7 separate regions of the Homo sapiens genome follow, and all the other regions are linked to region 1. The links are contacts of gene promoters, found by promoter capture Hi-C in blood cells and fetal thymus (Javierre and others, 2016). All regions are on one chromosome and are shown on one strand. Each heading gives the region's core, a stretch centred on a gene start or on the middle of the fragment in contact. The rest is flanking DNA. Distances are from core to core; before and after follow the strand shown. Region 1 holds the start of REST (RE1 silencing transcription factor). Region 2 has its middle 98 kb from the start of LINC02358. Region 3 holds the start of SRD5A3 (steroid 5 alpha-reductase 3). Region 4 has its middle 2.5 kb from the start of TMEM165. Region 5 overlaps CLOCK (clock circadian regulator). Region 6 has its middle 7.4 kb from the start of CLOCK. Region 7 has its middle 4.9 kb from the start of EXOC1.

Evidence for each region. Contacts are between HindIII fragments. The CHiCAGO score rates a contact against its expected background, and 5 or more counts as called.
Region 2: a fragment that was not itself captured here is called in contact with the fragment with the promoter of REST in region 1 in 1 of 17 cell types (fetal thymus); the score reaches 5.6 in fetal thymus.
Region 3: a contact is called between the fragment with the promoter of SRD5A3 here and the fragment with the promoter of REST in region 1, in 5 of 17 cell types (fetal thymus, activated CD4 T cells, total CD8 T cells and 2 more). The highest score is 11.4, in fetal thymus.
Region 4: a contact is called between a fragment that was not itself captured here and the fragment with the promoter of REST in region 1, in 1 of 17 cell types (naive CD8 T cells). The highest score is 9.9, in naive CD8 T cells.
Region 5: a contact is called between a fragment that was not itself captured here and the fragment with the promoter of REST in region 1, in 1 of 17 cell types (non-activated CD4 T cells). The highest score is 5.1, in non-activated CD4 T cells.
Region 6: a fragment that was not itself captured here is called in contact with the fragment with the promoter of REST in region 1 in 5 of 17 cell types (naive CD8 T cells, non-activated CD4 T cells, activated CD4 T cells and 2 more); the score reaches 8.2 in naive CD8 T cells.
Region 7: a contact is called between a fragment that was not itself captured here and the fragment with the promoter of REST in region 1, in 8 of 17 cell types (total B cells, fetal thymus, non-activated CD4 T cells and 5 more). The highest score is 10.2, in total B cells.

What each region holds. Positions count from the first base shown.
Region 1 is chr4:56,906,490-56,909,351 of GRCh38, forward strand. REST (RE1 silencing transcription factor) reads left to right here and starts at 1,411. Exons shown (of 4, transcript NM_005612.5): 1 at 1,411-1,724. RefSeq lists enhancers at 868-1,797, 2,728-2,862 and silencers at 894-1,188, 1,288-1,677, 1,788-2,637. The HindIII fragment of the contact is 2,443 bases long and covers 956-2,862 here.
Region 2 is chr4:54,941,700-54,944,561 of GRCh38, forward strand. No RefSeq gene overlaps it. Among named protein-coding and RNA genes, the nearest start is that of LINC02358, 98 kb to the left of the region's middle. The HindIII fragment of the contact is 4,216 bases long and covers 1-2,862 here.
Region 3 is chr4:55,344,765-55,347,626 of GRCh38, forward strand. SRD5A3 (steroid 5 alpha-reductase 3) reads left to right here and starts at 1,478. Exons shown (of 5, transcript NM_024592.5): 1 at 1,478-1,793. The coding sequence starts at 1,573. RefSeq lists an enhancer at 1,199-1,959 and silencers at 1,411-1,580, 1,791-2,060. The HindIII fragment of the contact is 3,550 bases long and covers 434-2,862 here.
Region 4 is chr4:55,392,073-55,394,934 of GRCh38, forward strand. No RefSeq gene overlaps it. Among named protein-coding and RNA genes, the nearest start is that of TMEM165, 2.5 kb to the right of the region's middle. The HindIII fragment of the contact is 2,154 bases long and covers 269-2,422 here.
Region 5 is chr4:55,531,645-55,534,506 of GRCh38, forward strand. The region is part of intron 1 of CLOCK (clock circadian regulator); the gene reads right to left. Among named protein-coding and RNA genes, the nearest start is that of CLOCK, 14 kb to the right of the region's middle. The HindIII fragment of the contact is 5,837 bases long and covers 1-2,862 here.
Region 6 is chr4:55,552,916-55,555,777 of GRCh38, forward strand. No RefSeq gene overlaps it. Among named protein-coding and RNA genes, the nearest start is that of CLOCK, 7.4 kb to the left of the region's middle. The HindIII fragment of the contact is 8,802 bases long and covers 1-2,862 here.
Region 7 is chr4:55,847,279-55,850,140 of GRCh38, forward strand. No RefSeq gene overlaps it. Among named protein-coding and RNA genes, the nearest start is that of EXOC1, 4.9 kb to the right of the region's middle. The HindIII fragment of the contact is 6,305 bases long and covers 1-2,862 here.

The DNA.
Region 1 (2,862 bases), core at 161-2,660:
CGGAGACTGCATTAATTAGTAATATATTGTCCAGATAGAGGGAAACAGAGGTCCTACGTGGGTATACCAGGAAATGAAGAGTCTGGAAGCCCTGCCCTAAGAGAAACAAATAAAGGAACTTCAAAGAGAAGGAAGTGAGGTACCCTGAGGAGAAGCTGGGATGTCTTAACAACTGCTTTGGGATTTTGAGCTTGCCCTTTTCACTGTGTAGAGTGTTCCTTGCCCTACTTTCCACCTGTTGAAGTTTTCCTCATTCTCCAAGGTCAGACTGAATACATCTACTGTGAAAAGTTTCTAGAACCTCTTGGGATCCATCTTCCTACTGGCAAACCCCCATAGCACTTGCTACTTATGTTGTAATACCAAGCAATAGTCAGACTTATCTAGGTCAAGTTAAGTAGGGGCTTGAACGCCACACTAAGGGGTTTAAGCTTTAAGCTTGTAGTCATGGGGAGCCACTATGCTTCTGAGGACAGGTGTGACTTACGACTGACGTTTAGGAAGGTATCAAAGGCAGACTGAGAAGCTCTTTCAGGTGTGAAAGGGGGTGGAATTACTCTCTCTCTGTTCTTTTTTGTTGTTTTTGTTTTTGTTAGCACATGACTATGGGCTAGGCATTCCGCTTGGTTATCCCGCTTCATAGACGTGAGCCCGGTTACTCCGACACACCGTGGCCCCAGGCAGCCTCCCCGTCCTCACCACCTTTTCTTCTGTCATCTGAGGGTAATTCCTCCCCTGCAGTCGTGCTTTCCGGGCTCAGCAATGACCTGCTACCTGCCACGTCTAGGGATCTGTCCCCTCAGTCCTCACGCTCACGCTTTCTGAGTCCATAACCTCCTTCCTGAAACGTTTTCTTCTCACTTCTCCCAAACTGACTGCATTCCCCCTCCGGTAGTTTGAAATTTGGAAGACTTTTTTTTTTTTTTTTTTTTTTTACCGCAGACGCTTAAAACGAAGCTTAATTAGTCAAGGACAGCTATGGGTGGAGACTTGAAGAGATCTGAAGGGTATCTTGGAGCGCTTTAGACTTGAGAGGCCGGTGACAATAGCTCTAAAGAGACCCGTCAAAGCCTGCGGATTCTTCTTTTAACAGCTCTATTCTCATGCATGCACGCCAGGGCTGGGGGGAACTTTTGTTGTTTGTTTGTAATAGAAATCGAGAAAGGGAGTGGGGCCCGCCTCTTTTCTGACCTAAGGGCAGGAGTGAGGGGCCGGGAGGATTACGGGCGGCTCCCCCTAGACGCGCCCCCAGGCGAGCTGGAGACTGGGGCACTCCTTGCTTGGTAGAGGGGCGGGGCGCGCCTAGCGGCCACGCGCGCGGGCGTCGGAGGGGGCGTGTCTCGCGGGCGCGCGCGGGCGTCGGAGGGGGCGTGTCCCGCGGGCGGTGGCGGCGGCGGCGGCGCGGACTGGGTGCGCGGCGCAGCGTCCTGTGTTGGAATGTGCGGCTGCCGCGAGCTCGCGGCGCAGCAGCGGAGCGAGCGCCGCCGAGGCCCGGGGCCCCAGACCCTGGCGGCGGCTGCCGCAGCCGAGACGGCAGGGCGAGGCCCGGAGGCCTGAGCACCCTCTGCAGCCCCACTCCTGGGCCTTCTTGGTCCACGACGGCCCCAGCACCCAACTTTACCACCCTCCCCCACCTCTCCCCCGAAACTCCAGCAACAAAGAAAAGTAGTCGGAGAAGGAGCGGCGACTCAGGGTCGCCCGCCCCTCCTCACCGAGGAAGGCCGGTAAGTGGGGCGCTGGGCTGGGGGCTCGGTCAGGGTGGGGGAGGGCCGCCCGGGCGGCGGCAGTGGCGGGACGGGGAGGGCGCGGAAGGACGCGGAGTCAGGCGCTGTCCAGGGCTGATTTGCAGATACTGTGGCTCCGGCGGCGGCGGCCCCGCCGGGCGGGGGCTGGCGGCCGAGCAGGATCGGGTTACACAGCAGCCGCCCGGGGGCTGGGGGCGTTTGTTGGGAGCAGCGCGTCGCCTGGACCCCCTCCCCACTGGAGGCTGGGACGCCGCCTCCGCGCTGGCCCGGACGCTCCACCGAGTCAGGTCCTTTGAGGCCAAGGAGCGGAGCTGCTCGGGCCCGTAGTCCTGAAACTTCCTCTGCTTCCTCCTCCTGCCCCCGGGTCCCACCGCAGCCCCGCGCCGGCCCGCGGCCCTCCTGGCCCCCTCCCCCAGGGCCTCTCCCTGTCGCCGGAAGGCGCCGTTGAGTGCGGCCGGGCGGGTTGAGTCAGCCCCGGGGCCCGGGCGGTTCCGCCTGCGGGGCTGGACAGCGATTTCTGCGCTTCAGCCGTCCGGCGCCGCTGGCCCCCGCGTCCGGCCACCCGACCGCTGGAGCTGGCGGGGCTGGGGCGCGCGTCCTGCCGGGCGCCGTGGGGGAGTGAAGTTCGCAAACTTCCGGGGCGCGGGGGTGGCGGCTGGCCCGTGTGGGGGCCCCCTCCGGCGCTCGGAGCCCGACGCCTCGCGAGGGCGCCCGCGGAGCCTCCCCGGCCCTGGGCGTTGGGCGAGCCCCGGGGCGGTCGGAGGGGCCCGGGGGCGGTCGGAGAAGCCCGGACGCCGGCTGCGCGGTAACTTTCCGTCCTCTCCCGGGACGGGGGCCCTAGGGCTGGGGAGGGGGCTGCCTGGACTCGGGGAGGACTGGTTCCGGCCAAACAGCGCCTCGAGCTTGATCCCCTCCCCCGTTTTAGTGTTGGAGAGCGCAGGAAAAGGCTCAGGACGAGTGTCGGGGCGACTCCCGCGAGTTGGTGTGTAAATGTGTGCAGTGAGCGGGCCGAGGCGAGAGGAAGCGAGAGCGCCCGAGTTTGCAAAGAGCTGCTTTGTGTTTGGTATTTTGAGAAAATGGCCGAATGCCTATTTCAGTTAGGAATGCCGCCGCCGAG
Region 2 (2,862 bases), core at 160-2,659, 2.0 Mb before region 1:
AAACTTGCCGTCCCTGACATCTGTGTTTATAAATGCACTATATTAAACAGCAGAGATTTTCCCCATCGTTAGCCAACACCAAGATGGCGTCTTGCAGGCTTTGTTTTTTCTTCACCCCTAATCGTAAGGGCTTTCTTTACTCTCTCTTTGCTTCCAGCTTTTGTCTTATTCTCCCCATAAAGAGTTGGCAGAGCATGGCTGGGCAATTTCAGAAACATGGTTTATAAGTGACTTGCTCTATTATTTTGCTATTAAAAGTGAGTCTGTGCTAACTATTCTTTGATGAAGAAGCAGTCCCTTCCAGCCCCCAGGTGGAGATTTTCCCTATCAATAACGCCAGAACAAGTTTGAATCAAAGAAATGACACATACAGTGGCCAGATGTTTGGAGAATAAGAAAGGGAGCTAAGTTCACACAATTGTTCTGCCTTCTTGCTTTCCGCTGAGGTTCTTTCCTGTGAGCTGTAGGACTCATTAACAGACAGCTCTGCTCTGGGCATGCACACCGACAGCCTCAGCCTAGCCCTTCAGCGAGAGGCTGCTAACAGGCGGCCTTCCTTTTCCTGTGCAGCTGGTGTTTGCAGAAGGACATGATTTGAAAGTTGATTTATTTACCCTGTCTTTGAAAAAAAATGAATGGACATAGATGTCTGTTTGTTAAAACAATTAATAAACTCTAATAATATGATTAGAATTTAACAGAAAAACATCGTTGGCTTGCAGGTGGAAATCCAAGGTCTTCAACTTTTAGGATGTTCATCATGTAGCTGTCTCACTCAGAACAAGATAAGATGACGTGTTTGGTCTTTAAAAACAAAACAGTCAGGAGATCGAGACCATCCCGGCTAAAACGGTGAAACCCCGTCTCTACTAAAAATACAAAAAATTAGCCGGGCGTAGTGGCGGGCGCCTGTAGTCCCAGCTACTTGGGAGGCTGAGGCAGGAGAATGGCGTGAACCCGGGAGGCGGAGCTTGCAGTGAGCCGAGATCCCGCCACTGCACTCCAGCCTGGGCGACAGAGCGAGACTCCGTCTCAAAAAAAAAAAAAAAAAACAAAACAAAACAAAAAAACAGCTGATCAGTTCTTGTTTTTTACTCTACAGCCTTTGAGTCATGAATGAAGAAAATCACTTTCACTTGTGGGAGCCAGTGGGCTCCAGTTCGTGTTGTCTCTGTTGTCCGTGGAGACTTTGAAGATGTTTATATGCACCTCAACTATCAAGAGGAAGAGAACATGCCAGAAAGGGCCTCTTCCTCTTGGGCTAGCTCCTCCTCTCAAGTCCCTTCAAAAAGTCAGTGTGTCTGAGACACAATAGACACAGCTTAAATAAAGTGAAGAGGGATAGGCCGTAGAAGAAGTAGTTTCTGTCTTTAAAAAATGTATTCATTATTTTGGGGAATAATATAAACCTGAACACCAATTTAAAAAACTTTAAAGGACTATTCAGTGAAAAATCATTCTCTCTCCCACCCTCACTCCCCATCAGCCACCATGTTCCCAAACCAGAGGCAACTGCCATTATATTTCTAGAGTATTCTTCCAGAGACATCCTATGTAGATATAAACATTCATACATACACATATATATGCTTTTAAAATATGCAAATGATGTACAATACACATTGTTCTGCACTTTGCTTTTTTTTTTTCATTTAACAATACATCAGACAAAGATGTTTTTTCTGCTCAAAGTGCCATCAAGAGAGAAAAGTCATTCTTCAGTTCAATGATCTGCATCTGTTTCTGGCTTATTGTATTGACAACAAACAAAATGCAAGTCAAATTCTATTGCAGCCATAGGTAATCTCGGCCTGGAGAAATGTGAATCCTCTTTAAAACCTTACAACTCTGAATAACAGGAAGTGTGGAGTGCATAGAGGAGAAAGGGAAGGATGAATTATGCTTAATAGAACGTTTTATGGAACTGACAGTTGAGCCGAGAGACATTTTGGATGCCATCTTGCAAAATGATTCCTTGCCTAGCTCTAGTAAGTAGAATGCAAAGTTATTGGCTATAATAGCATAATTTTTGCTAGTTAAGGATCTCTATAGGTGGCATAGTGTCAATATTCTGGATATGACATGAGGGAGGTAGAAAGAGAACAGGCTTTGGAATCAGGCAGACCTAGATGTTAATACTGGATATACCAGTTATTAATTTAAACTAGTTTTCTAACCTCTCAGACCCTTGGTTTTCCTTTATGTAAAATGGAAATACTGTACATAAAGAGTGGTTGTGACAATTTGTCTTTTTTTAAAAAAAAAACACATCATAGGTGTCCACTATTACTGTGATGCTGCATAACAAATAATTCCCCCATTCTCCATGACTTGAAATAATGAATATTCATGTTGTATTCATGTTTCCATTCACTGTAGTTTAGATGTACCCAGCTGCTCTTGCCTGAGCTTTTCTGGCCTCTAGGCTTGGGTCTGTTTCAGGTCTGCTTTACACGTCTCGATTTCAGGTCAAAGGGTGACAATTGCCTGGTGGCATGCTTTTCTCTCATGGCAGAAGATAGAACCTCAAGAGGACTGGCAGCAACTCACCATGCCTCTTATAGACTCAGCTGGTCTATAAGACCAGAACATTGTTACTTCTGCCCACATTCCATGGGCCAAAACATCACAGGGCCAGGGCCAAGGCCAAATTCAATGAAGTAGGAGGAATATTCTCCCTGTAGTGAACCACAGCAAAAGCAGGCAGGGGAGGAAGAATCATAAATAATAGATTCAGGCCCCCAGTGCAACACCAGGCATCTACAGTGTTCACATAAATGGGAGCTATTATCACTATAGTATCAAATAGGAAAGGTATTAGAGATAGCACTGAATGTATAATAATTCTAAAACACACCTTAA
Region 3 (2,862 bases), core at 228-2,727, 1.6 Mb before region 1:
GGCCGAGGCAGATGGATCACGAGGTCAGGAGATCAAGACCATCCTGGCTAACACAGTGAAACCCCATCTCCACTAAAAATACAAAAAAAAAAAAAAAAAAAAAGCCAGGCGTGGTTGGGGGGGCACCTGTAGTCCCAGCTATTCGGGAGGCTGAGGTAGGAGAATGGTGTGAACCTGGGAGGCAGAGCTTGCAGTGAGCAGAGATCAGGCCACTGCACTCCAGCCTGGGCGACAAAGCGAGACTCCATCTCAAAAAAAAAAAAAAGAAAAGAAAGAAACAGTGAAAGGGTGACTCCCGCAAAAGAGATCCAGGATCACTCAATAAGGCCTCATTGTCCTAGCTAGAATGCCAATTTAACCATCCTTAATCACCTGGCTGTCAAAGGACGGGTAAAGCCTTAGGTGTCTTTTGCACAAAGAAGAAAACTTTAAAAGCTTGCTCATTTAACAGTCCAAAGTCCCACTAACCTACCCACCCTGATGTTTATTCAACACACATATCGGGTATCTCATTGGGGTAAGGGTGATGAGTTGGCTACCTCTCCCCTCTTCCACTTCTCACCCACCACCCAATCTCAAAAATGTAAGCTCCAAATAAGCAGTGACAATTATCTTGTAAACCCCTCTGTCCTCAGTATCCAAAATGATGCCTGTCATACAGTAGGCATACAATACTTCAGAATTAACATTTTAAAGACTTTTAAATACTTAAAAGAGCTAGATTTTCACTTATAGTAAATAAAATCAGTGTTGTTTAAAATCAGTGAGTCAATAAATAGCATTGTCACTACCTGAGATAAATGTTACAGGAAACAGCTGATGGAATTTAAAAACTTTGCTTCTAAGGATTGGAACCCTATTGGTAAGCGACTGCTGTTTTTTAAACACAGTTTTTACCACTATGATTTTTATTATTATGTGCAATTACTTGTCTACATGTTTACATTATACACATATCCAACACATTTCCAGCATCCTAACATAATTATTCATTTTTGGGTGTGATCTGCCTTCTTTATCCATATATACACACATTCATATTAATATAGTTGTTTGCAATCATAGCTATGTATTTTTATGGTTGGTTTTGTTTTTCACTTCACATATTGTTTCCTAAACAGCTTTCCCTGTTTCTACACTCGTCATAATAATTCTCAATGACTGCATGATATTCTAACATGTCAGTGTATCATAATTTAGCTAAATAAACTAAAATGCAACATGTAAGGTTTCCATTTTTTGCTTTGGAGATAATGTTGATAAGAGTGGCAGACACGTGGTCTCGTCTGTTTTGCGTCTTTGCTTCTGATGAATCATATTCTGGAGCTCCATCTAAGAATCCCCATGCCCAGATTAGGGACTGCGAGCGACCACCCAGCGCCAGCGCGACCAGGACCAAGGACCTCCGCGGCTGAGCGGCGAGTCCGGGAGGGGCTCTGCGCGTCCCCGCCCCGCGCCGCGTCACCGACGTCCCGCTAGGCTGAGACCGGTGCGCCGCGCGCTAGTGGCCGCTCTTCCGCGGGCTAGCGGGCGGTGGGGGCGCCAGCAGCGCGGAAGGCGGGCACGCGGGCCATGGCTCCCTGGGCGGAGGCCGAGCACTCGGCGCTGAACCCGCTGCGCGCGGTGTGGCTCACGCTGACCGCCGCCTTCCTGCTGACCCTACTGCTGCAGCTCCTGCCGCCCGGCCTGCTCCCGGGCTGCGCGATCTTCCAGGACCTGATCCGCTATGGGAAAACCAAGTGTGGGGAGCCGTCGCGCCCCGCCGCCTGCCGAGCCTTTGATGTCCCCAAGAGGTAACCGCGCCCCGGTCCCGAGCCGCGGTGGTCAAGGCGCTGAGAGTTCGGGGCGCCCCGGCTCGCGGGCAGCCAGCAGGGGGCAGCAGAGGCGGGACCCGGCCTGGGAGGCCCTGGCGGGTTCCCGGGCGCAGCACGGCGCTCCCTCGGCCTGGCCCCGGCCATGCCCCGGCTGCTGCGTGGCTCCGGGGAGCAGTGCCCGGGTGTCCGCGGACGCCGAGGGAGAGCGGAGCCGCTTGCACTCAGCTGGAGGAATGTGAACTGGTAGCCGCACGGAGCCTTTCCCTGTGGGAAATGGCAACGCATCCGAATTTAGGCCTGGTCATGCGAATTTAGGCGGCAAATTGAAGTGCCCCTTGCCCCAAATTCTCCTTTTTCCCGTACCCTGCACTCCAGTGGCTCATACTCTAACTTGAGGTCACCGGGAATCATTTGTGGAAATGAAGTTAGGCCGGCTCTTCGGCCTCGGCTTCCCCCGTTTCTCTTCCCAACCCTTGCAGTGGGGACAAAGGACTGAGTCGCCCTAACCTGCACCTTGGCAGGTGCCCCTGGGGAAGGTGGCCCAAGGTGCAGGTCATAGGCAGGCCCGTCCCGAAGCTCCATTTGACTTTCGAAAAATTCTGTAACCCAGTTCAGCGAAGGATTAAATCGTCAGGTTTTAAATAGAGACCTGTTATAATTTTCTTCTTCTCCTTTTTCCACTTTAAATTCAGGACATAGCTGGAAAGAGTTGGCCAAATACTATTCGAGATGGTAGAAATAGAACAGTGCCCCTTAAGATGCATCTTAGGCCGGGCGCAGTGGCTCACGCCTGTAATCCCAGCACTTTAGGAGGCTGAGGCAGGCGGATCGCTTGAGTTCAGGAGTTCGAGACCAGGCTGGGAAATATAGTGAGACTCCGTCTCTCCTGAAAATACAAAAAATTGGCAGGGCTTGGTGGCGTGTGCCTGTAGTGCCAGCTACTTGGAATGAAGGCAGGAAGATCATCTGAGATCAGGCATTGGAGACTGCAGTGGGCTATAATCATGGCACTGCACTCTAGCCTGGGCAACAGAGAAATACCTTGTAT
Region 4 (2,862 bases), core at 96-2,595, 1.5 Mb before region 1:
GAATTCAACAAACAGGTATGAGGCATAATTCTGCTACTTACTAGCTGTGTAATTTGAGGAAAGTTCCTTGACCTAAGTCTCAGATTTCTCATTTGCAAAAAGGAGGATAGAAATAATTCATGTAACACACTTAGTGCTCTGACTGGATCAGAATAGCATTCAATAAAGTTTTACTACTACTTTAATGATAACTATTCCCATTACCTTCTTATATAATCTACTAGGTGCTAGAAATATAAAGATAAAAGGCATAACCTTACCATCTAGAAGCTTAAGGCTTAGTAAGGGTGTTGGAATAAAAGACATTAAAATACAGTGCAGGCCCGGCTCAGTGGCTCACACCTGCAATCCCAGCACTTTGGGAGGCCGAGGTGGATGGATTACTTGAGGTCAGGAGTTCGAGACCTGCCTTGCTAACATGGTGAAACCCTGTCTCTACTAAAAATACAAAAATTAGCCAGGCATGGTGGCGGGCGCCTATAGTCCCAGCTACTTTGGAGGCTGCGGCAGGAGAATCGCTTGAACCTGGGAGGTAGAGGTTGCAGTGAGCTGAGATCGCACCACTGCACTCCAGCCTGGGTGACAGAGCGAGACTCCATCTCTACATAAATAAATAAAAAATAAAATATAGGTCAGGCACAGTGGCTCATGCCTATAATCCCAGCACTTTTGGGAGGCCAAGGCGGACGGATCACGAGGTCAGGAGATCAAGACCATCCTGGCTAACATGGTAAACCCGTCTCTACTAAAAATACAAAAAATTAGTGGGGCGTGTAGCACATGCCTGTAATCCCAGCTACTCAGGAGGCTGAGGCAGGAGAATTGCTTGAACCCGGGAGGCGGAGGCTGCAGTGAGCCGAGATCTTGCCACTGCATTCCAGCCTGGGCAACAGAGCGAGACTCCACCTCAAAAATAAATAAATAAATTAATTAAATAAAATACAATGTAATGCACATGTAGTAGGGTTTCTTTCCATAGGATGCCTGACAGTGGTTACATTTTAGTAAGACTATATCGGTGTAGGCTATGATTAAAAAATATATCATCTTGGAATTGTTGCGCCACCCACATCCTTATTGGGTAGGGGGTTAAATAAGTAGCTTCAGTTGTCCTTCAAGAAAGGTATCAGGAAAGCTCCTATAGTTTTTTAATTGCTTTTTTTAAGGGAGTTAGTCACCAATGAGGACTAGAAGGATGATGGCTCTAAACCCTCAAGGTGGTGAAAACTGGAGCCAGCCTCGATTTAGCACGCCTGAGCACGGATCCCAGGAGGTAGATGTGTGTGGAAACAGAAATACCAGATCCCATGAGAATCAGACACCTAGAGCCTAGCCTGGCAGCACCTGAAGGCCCTTGGATCAGGGTGACACTGGGGCAGGCTAGAAAGGTCTCACTCTGGCCCAGATTCTGATGCTTTGCTGACACCACTGTGCCAGTTCGCCAATGCTCTATCTCCATTTATGTTACATCTTCTGCCAAATAGCTTTGCTGCCTTGCCCCTGAACCACTGCATGCTCAGCAGCTGGTGCTTCAGCATCCTGCAGCTGTAGCCCAGAAGTCCTCACTGCCTCATATGTTGAGATGACTGAATTTGGCCAGGAGTCCTTCCTGTGAGAAAGCCCTGGAGTGTGGGCAGCCCATCCTAGAAAATAAACAAAGCAGCTTTCAGCAATGAGGGACACACAGCCAGTTTTGCTACATTCACCCTTCTGGCTCTGTCTTCAGCCTAAGCTGCTCCTTTCAGGTCCCTCCCTTGGGACCTCAAGCCTCCCTTTCAGGCCCCTTTTAAGCACAGCAAATCCTGTATGCATTAAGGGGAGGTAGTTGAAGTTTGGGCTTCTGGGTTTTATGTTATTACTGGCTTCTGAAAGCTCAAACATTTGCACTCCAGGGATGATAGTTGCATCTGTTAAATTTAGTGTAAAGCTGCCTCCTTACATATTTTAAGTTAGGCCTAAAGGTTTCCCCATACATGGTGAACTGTAGCCTAATTGGGTATGTAAACAGACTGTAACCTATTCTTGTACCAATCACAGAGTTCTGGCCAATCACAAGTGGCCAACTGTTCAAACCGTGTTCAAATAGGGCAAACCTGAGCTACAACCAATCCAGCTGTTTCTGTCCCTCAATTATGTTTTCTGTAAGTCACTTTATTTTTTCCGACCACTCGGCAAGACTGGAGCCTCTCTGAACTTACTTTGATTTGGGGTCTTTTTGATTTGCAGATCATTCTTTGGGTTCTTTGCTTGATTAAACGCTGTTAAGTTTAATTTGTCTAAGGTTTTTCTTTTAACACACCCCAAACTGTAAGTGGAGGCATCCTACTTACACAGTAATAGAAGAATGCATAAAGCAATAACATGAAGGAACAAGTGACAAATTCTGTAACGCCATGTGTTGGGGAAAAGTTCTGAGAGTGGAAGCTTGAATAGGTTTTGGAAGTATGAGTAGGAGTTTACAAGGAGAGAATGGAAGAAGGGGAATTACGGACAGAATAACATGGACGGAGGCCGGCCGCGGTGGCTCACACCTGTAATCCCAGCACTTTGAGAGGACGAGGCCGGCAGATCACCTGAGGTCTGGAGTTCGAGACCAGCCTGACCAACATGGAGAAACCCCATCTCTACTAAAATTACAAAGTTAGCCGCGTATGGTGGAGCATGCCTGTAATCCCAGCTACTCGGGAAGCTGAGGCAGGAGAATCTCTTGTACCCGGGAGGAGGAGGTTGCAGTGGGCCGAGATCTCACCATTGCACTCCATCCTGAGCAACAAGCGCGAAACTCCGTCTCAAAAACAAAAACAAAGAAAACAACAAAACAAAAAAACAGACGGAAATTTTATTATCCTGTGACAAACACTG
Region 5 (2,862 bases), core at 251-2,750, 1.4 Mb before region 1:
TAGTGAGTCGAGATCACGCCACTGTATTCCAGCCTGGCGACAGAGCAAGACTTCGTCTCAAAAAAAAAAAAAAAAAAAAAAAAAAAAGGAATTAACCCAATCCTCCTCAAACTCTTCCAAAGAACTAAAATGGGAGAGAACATTTCCAAACTCATTCTAAAAAGCCGCCATTACCCTGATATAAAAACCAGACAAAGATACCACAAGAAAAGAAAACCACGGTAATAACCATAATGAATAGTGATTTTTTAAATGTTAAAAAAAACAAAAACAAAAACAAAAAAAACCCCAGCAAACCAAATTCAACAGCACATTAAAAGGATTATATACCATGACCAAGTGGGATTTATACCAGAAATTCAAGGATGGTTCACAATACAAAAATCAATTAGGGTAATATACCACATTAATAAAATGAAGCACAAAAACCACATGATTCCAATTGACGAACAAATGCATTTGACAAAATTCAACACCCTTCCATGATAAAAACACTCAATAAATGAAGAATAGAAGGAAACTACCTCGACATAATAAACACCATATATGAATATCCCACAGCTAACATCCTATTCAATGGTAAAAGACTGAACACTTCTCCTAGGATTAGGAGCAAGTCGAGGATGCCCACTCTCATCACTTCTATTCAACACAGTACCAGAAGTCCTAGATAGAGCAATTAGGCAAGAAGAATAAATAGAAGGCACTCAAATAAGAAAGAAAATTATCTCTGTATACAGATGACATGATTTATATGCAGAAAGCCCTAAAGAAGAATCCACAAAAAAACTGTTAGTACTAATACATGATTTCAGCAAAGTTTCAGGATCCGAAATCAACACACAAAAATCAGTTGCATTTCTATACACCAAAAATGACCAACTGGAAAGGAAAATTTAAAAAAAAAAATCCCAATTTACTATAGTATCAAAAGAGGAAAGGCAAACCATGGTGGCTCAAACCTGTAATCCTAGCACTTTGGGAGGCCAAGGTGGGAGAACTGCTTGAAGCCAGGAATTTGAGACCTTATCTCTCTATAAAAATACCAAAAAATTAGCCGAGCGTGGAAGCATATACTTTTAGTCCCAGCTTCTTGGGAGGCTGAGGTAGGAGGATCATTTGAGCCCAGGAGTTCAAGGTCACAGTGAGCCATGATTGTGCCACTGCACTCCAGCCTAGGTGACAGAGACCCTATCTCTTTAAACAAAGAAAAGGGGTCGGGTCGGGGGGGTAGTGTGGATAAAAATACTAGGAATAAACTTAACCAAGGAGATAAAAGACTTGTACTCTGAAAACTACAAAACATCGCTAAAAGAAATCAAAGAGAGAATACAAATAAATGGAAAAACATTCCGTGTTTTTAAACTGAAAGAGTTAATACTGTTAAAATGTCCATACTACCTAAAGCAATCTATAGATTCAATGTAATCCCTGTCAAATTCTCAATGACATTTTTTTTGCAGAAATAGAAACAAAACCATCCTAAAATTCATACAGAATCTCAAGGGACCCCCAAGTAGCCAAACCAGTCTTGAAAAACCACCAAAAATTTGGAGGCCTCATACTTTCTTATTTCAAAACACACTACAAAGCAACAGTAATCAAGACAGTGTGGTACTGACATAAATACAGAGCTACAGACCAATGGAACAGAACAGAAATAAACGCTCGCACATGCCACCAAATGACTTGCGACAAGGGTGCCAAGACTACCCAATGGAGAAAAAACAGTCTCTACAACAAACAGTGTTGGGAAAACTGAATATCCACATGCCAAAGAATGAAGCCAAAATATGATATTACTAATTTATTTTATGATGACCTAAAAGTTTTGATTTCCGAATATTTTTTCAACACTTTTTAATTAAGTATTTTAGATACATATTAGAATATTTTTCTGCCTAGAAAGTAATTCAAACCATATCACTGACTAAAGATTTTTGGGATTGTTTGTAAATCCGTGAAAAAGTGCTTAAGGCCAGGCATGGTGGCTCGTGCCTGTAATCTCAGCACTTTGGGAGGCCAAGGCAGGTGGATCACCTGAGGTCAAGAGTTTGAGACCAGCTTGGCCAACATGGTGAAATCCCATCTCTACTAATAGCACAAAAATTAGCCAGGCATGGTGGCACACGCCTGTAATCCCAGCTACTCGGGAGGCTGAGGCAGGAGAACAGCTTGAACCTGGGAGGCAGAGGTTGCAGTAATCCAAGATCATGCCACTACACTCCAGCCTGGGCAACAGAGTGAGACTCCATCTCAAAAAAATAAAACAAAAACAAAGTGCTTGTTTAAGATGCAGGAGAGTGGACACTTGTTTACTAAATTCAAGACACACTACAAAACTTTTGCTTTTCAGTAAACTCTCGATGTTTTCCTTTTTGCCTGTGTCTTAAAACATTAATGTATAAAGAACCCAATAGTAATAAAATGTTTTGTACATTTGTTTGCCATTTAATCTAGCTTGTACTACCCTATGATTAACAGCACTGAAGTAATTAATAATTACAGTTGTAATATGCAGCGAGTCAAGTGGAGCATCAGTGCAACAATACCAAACTTGAAACGAGTGCTTATTCTACTCTCAACTATCACCAAGCCAATCCTCCTCAAACTCTTCCAAAGAACTAAATGTGAGAGAACATTTCCAAACTCATTCTAAAAGGCCAGCATTACCCTGATATCAAAATCAGACAAAGATACCACAAAAAAAGAAAGCTACAGCAATAAACCTAATGAATACTGATTTTTTTACCCTTAAAAAAATACTAGCAAACCAAATTCAACAGCACACAGTCTATGTGCTGTTGTACTGCAGAATCTAATACTCCTGGGTATTTTTGTTATAGCAGCCAAAACTAAGAT
Region 6 (2,862 bases), core at 145-2,644, 1.4 Mb before region 1:
AAACAGGAAAAGAGTTGGAGAAATAGCTGGCCAGGGAGTGGGCTGAAATAAAGCAATCTGCAACATCTACCATGTGGTATAGCAAGGATACCGAGGATGTGTAAGTTTCTCATGGGTCAATCGATGCTGCGTAGAAAATGCTGTCCAGGTTTGAACTATCTTGATCCTGAAGGGGGAAAGAAATTCTAGCAGCAAGAGGCTGGATTTACTTCTGGGAGAGGAAACTAAGAGAGTTAGCAGAGATAGAGCTAAGACTGCTCCATCGCCTGTGTTGATCGAGGGACTGTGCAGTTGGGAAGCTGTTTCAGAGTTTCTAGGAGAACTCAATGTGCCCCATTAAAGAGTGAACATTTGGATGCAGTATTCATTGTACAGTTAAGGAAAATTTATCCCTTTCATCCCTATTCTCTCTCCCAGTCCCCAACACTAGAGGGATAGGCCCTGAAAGTGTTACTGATAGAGGGTCTTGACTGCAAGGTGTCCAAGTTCTTTGCGTTTTGAACTAAGAATTGGACAAAACGCCCCGCAAAGAAAGAATAAAGCAACTAAAGAACGAAAGCAGGGATTTATTGAAAATGAAAGTACACTTCACAGTGTGGGAGCCGGCGTGAGTAGTGGCTCAGAATCTTCTCCGGTCCAAATACCCGCTAGAGGCTTCCCATTGGCCACTTCATTTCATGAAGTGGTGGCTTGCAATTGGTCTGAGTGGTTGCCAAAAGCAAGCAATCAGAGGCTAAGGTGAAGTTACAAAGTTGCAAACGAACTCTCAGCCAGCAAGCAGTGTGATTGGTTGCAGACAGCCAATTTCCCATCTGCCACGCACAGAAGGTGGGGGTTTGCAAAGTAGCCTCTGGTCCTTTTGTTACTTAGGCATGGCAAGTTAGGGTTTTCCTTTAAATCTGGCTCTAAGAAGTTGGAGTGAAACAGCCTTAGGTTCCCTGCCTCCAGACCTTATTCTCCTGCCTCAAAAGGAGAGGGAAAAACTGGTTAAAAACCCCACCTTTCATCTTCAGAGTTGCTTAAGTCACGAGTTCAGCCAGAGAATGTTTGCTTGGAACTGACACTGGAGTGTTCAACTAGACAGACTTAATAACCCACACTGTGGGATGGGTAAAAGAAGTTGCTCAGGTTGTCTTTAAAGGATTTGCTGTGTAGTGCTTCTCGAATTTTAATGTGCGTGTCACCTGGAGATCTCATTAAAATGAAAATTATGATTCAGTTAGTCTGGGATGGGGCCAGAGATTCTGCATTTCTAACAAGCTCCTTAGGAATGCTGCTGATTCTAGGACCACATTTACCACATTTTGACAAAAAAGGCACTATAGAGAAGGGAGATTCAATAGAGCACACTTGGCAAAAATAGACAAAAATATTAGGATAAAATATCAATTTTTATAGATCAAAAAATGACTGAATATTGGCAATTAAAAAAACTAACTTTGTACCCCATTGAATATTCATTCAGTAAAATGGGGAACAATATTACATATTAAATAATTTCTGCATATCCTGACAAATATTTTTACCCTAGTCAAATGAGAATGTATACATGAAGCACTGTATGGAAGTAGTAGTGACCTGTGTTGGTAGGCATCAATCAGTCCTTGCTAAAAGAATGTGTGTGTGCACTTTGCTAAAGAGCGGGGCTGAAATCACAAGCAGTCAGTTCTAACATGATATAATTTTATTATTTTTACAAATGTCAAAGTCTCCAGAACTGTTTGTGGGTAAAAACTTACTGCCACCTGGTGGATCTGAGTTAAGACAAAGGGAAATAGATATCTTTTTTAAGCTCTCCTAAATACTATTATTATTTCCTTTGTTCTTTTAACTTTAAAAAGAAAACAAATATGTATTTACTTTTTAAAAGACTACATTTGGGGGAATTTCTGCATTTGGTTTCAATTGGAGGGGAAAATAATGTATATGAATGTTATTTTGATAAATATGGTTATATGCATTAGATGTTATATGCATTATAGGCATTAGAGTTACATTGTAACTTTAGAAGATGGCTCTTCCTTTCATTTCCACGGCTGTTTTTATCCTGAATAGTAACTTATCCATCCATTTCTGGAAGGTTCAGGAATTGGATAAATAAAACTAGATAATTACCTGAAGTGTGTGTAATGCTGTAATAAAGACCACTGTGTGTGACCTCTCTGAACTTTCCTCCATCTAGTCCCAAGATGTATCTCAGAAGAATTTTCCTAATCCTTCCCAGAATTAGATCAATTGATTTCACCTGGTGAAATAAATTCTCATTACCTTACTCAAATGTGTATTTAACTTTCCTTCCACTTCATGATTCTCTGTAGCCTCTAAGATCCCTAAACCCCCACCAATAGCAAGAAAGAGCCTTTTCTTGACTCAATGTTCAACTGCCTCAATTCTCACCAATTTATTTTTGTAATCTAGGCATTTAAACCTAGTCTAGATTCTCTTACAAATATCAGTGAACATCCATAATGAGAATTATGGATCATGAATACAAACAAAGTAGAAAAAAATCTGTTACTGAACTATTATATGCTGGATTTACCAACCTTTCCTCTAAAAGTGATGTTCATTATTATGCCAAGACGAAACATCCTATAGGCCTTCTGCAGTGTACTAATGTATATTTTCTCATGATGAATTCTTCTGTGATTACTGTTAAAATATAAGTCATCCTACAATATATTTTTCTCACCTCTGCTCAGGATTTAGAAACTTACATGGTGTAGTGTTCTAATGATTCTATACTTTAACTATTAATGAGAATACTTAGTAATTTTCTAACTTAATAGTAACTACTCAGAACGATAATAATGAATAGAGATGTTTTTTATGTACTTTTCAGAATCTATTAATTGCATTATG
Region 7 (2,862 bases), core at 145-2,644, 1.1 Mb before region 1:
TGGTGGGACTGTAAACTAGTTCAACCATTGTGGAAGTCAGTGTGGCGATTCCTCAGGGATCTAGAACTAGAAATACCATTTGACCCAGCCATCCCATTACTGGGTATATACCCAAAGGACTATAAATCATGCTGCTATAAAGACACATGCACACGTATGTTTATTGCGGCACTATTCCCAATAGCAAAGACTTGGAACCAACCCAAATGTCCAACAATGATAGACTGGATTAAGAAAATGTGGCACATATACACCATGGAATACTATGCAGCCATACAAAATGATGAGTTCATGTCCTTTGTAGGGACATGGATGAAATTGGAAATCATCATTCTGAGTAAACTATCTCAAGGACAAAAAACCAAACACCGCATGTTCTCACTCATAGATGGGAATTGAACAATGAGAACACATGGACACAGGAAGGGGAACATCACACTCTGGGGACTGTTGTGGGGTGGGGGGAGGGGGGAGGGAGAGCATTAGGAGATATACCTAAAGTTAAATGACTAGTTAGTGGGTGCAGCACACCAGCATGGCACATGTATACATATGTAACTAACCTGCACAATGTGCACATGTACCCTAAAACTTAAAGTATAATAATAATAAAAAATAAAAAAATTAAAAAAAAAGAGATGATTTCTGCACTTCTGAGAGAATCTCCTAGAATGTGTATACGGAGTTCAGCACTGTGCATTTGTAATGACTGCCCTTTATTGTAATATCACTCTACAATATGTATATTAAATAAGGCAGCTGCATAAGAAAAGCATTGAGACGCAATGTGATTCTGCAAGCCAATCTTTGCCTTCCTTATATTTATTTGTATGTCACATTATATTACTTTCCAATAATGATGTCAAATGTGCATCTACTATCTAACTAATATTTATTTATAATATTTACTTAATTAATATTGATACAGGTAATTACCATCCTTATTTAGTGACTCCCTGACTTCCTCCCATAAAGCTACAAAGAAATGGAAAGTATCACGTGGGGATATTTACATCTATTTCTAACAAAACCTAAAACAAACACCAATTGCTTTATGTATTTAACAGTAGAGACATTTCTTCCTTGCTGCAGTTGTTAAAGATATTTAGAAAATAAAGAATCTGGGCCTAGGTGGGCAGATCACTTGAGCCCAGGAGTTTGAGACCAGCCTGGGCAACATGGCAAAACCCCATCTCTACTAAACCCCATCTCTACTAAAAATACAAAAGATCACCCAGGCATGGTGGCATGTGCTTGTAGTCCCAGCTACTTAGGAGGTTGAGGCAGAAGAATCGCTTGAACCTGGGAGGCAGAGGTTGCAGTGAGCTAACGCCATTGCACTCCAGCCTGGGTGACAGAGCAAGACTGTCTCCAGAAAAAACAGAACGAAAAAGAAAATAAAGAATCTGGGAAGTGCAGCATTGTAACTCTCATTGTCCACCCCCCACCCCCACAAAGAGTTACTTGGTGTTCTTTGTGTTGATACTAATAGTCTTACATCTCTGAAAAAAAGTTCTTCCTTTCTTAGACAGGAACATGCATCATTAAATTATAAGAAAACAATGCTAAGAAATAGGGAAGAGAAAAATCAAAGTAAGTGTCATAATAAATGTCAAATGTTTAAAATGTCACATTTCAAATTGAAATTATATAAATCTACATGATTTTAAACATTTGAACATTTTAAACATTTGAAGATCCCTTAGCTTTATACCCAAATTAAAATTAATCAGACTGATATCAAAAGACAGTTTGGATGCCAGTAAAAGAGGCATCCAAATATGAAATATGAAAGTCCACTTCCATGAAATCTATGAGTTTTCTCACTAAACAATGTCCTCAAAGCCAGTGGAGCTACCACCGATGTCATCAGAGACAGCCCTAGAGGGAGTGGGGCACTTTTGCCCTTCCTCCTTCAGGGGTTCAAGCTGAGGAAAAGGATGGTCTCCCTCCCCCTTCAAAAGGTGCAAAATGGATTCAGGTCTTGAGAAGAACATGAAGTCTTTACAATCTTCAGGCCTCTGCTTTACTGGTGCACAGTAACAAGAGCGATTTCTCTGAGGAAACAATTAACTTCTATAAATCATCAATATTTACTACTCTTCACCATTTAGAAGAGACTTTTCCCTTGGAGCTTACTAACAATGGAAAAGTTATTTCATGCTATGTAAGTATGAGATTCCCTCATATGTGATACATGTTAATATATACAGCCTTCTTTCTATGTAAAGGAAGCGGGACCTCAGAACCTCCTTGGGCAGAACCTCCTTGGGTGACTATTACATGTTTTTCAAGTAGGTAAATCTGCCCAATTTAATCTACTAAACCAATCTGCATGTAATAACAGCTACCATTTATTGAATGCTTATACTGTGTGCCAAGCAATGAGACAAGTGCTTTACAAGAAACATCTTAGCAAATATGCCCAAGATGGGATTACTATTTTTTATATACAGATGAGAAAATTGAGGCTCTGAAGAGTTAAGTAACTTGCCCTGTGGTCACTGACTCAGTAAAGGGTAAAGACCAGATTTGAACCCCTGGTCTGTGTGATTCCGAAACAGGAAAATTCCCTTATCCCCATCGCAGGGCATGCGATGGGGGTGTCACTCACTTCTTCAGTGCCCCACTGCTCAAACCTCTAGGGGGAGCATGCAGAAGGGCAGGTTGTGGGGCTCGGACTCCACGGCAGCGTATAGGGGTGAACGTTTACAGCTCCTGAAGCCCTGCTCAGCGTTTGTTACAGGGTGCTCTTTTAGTTTAGTCATCCGGATGGCTTGTGTTAGCTAGCTCAATTAGACCTCCTGCCTAATTGCAAGGAGAGGGCTTTCTGTGTCCTGAGGTTTCTTGCCTTGGTGTAAC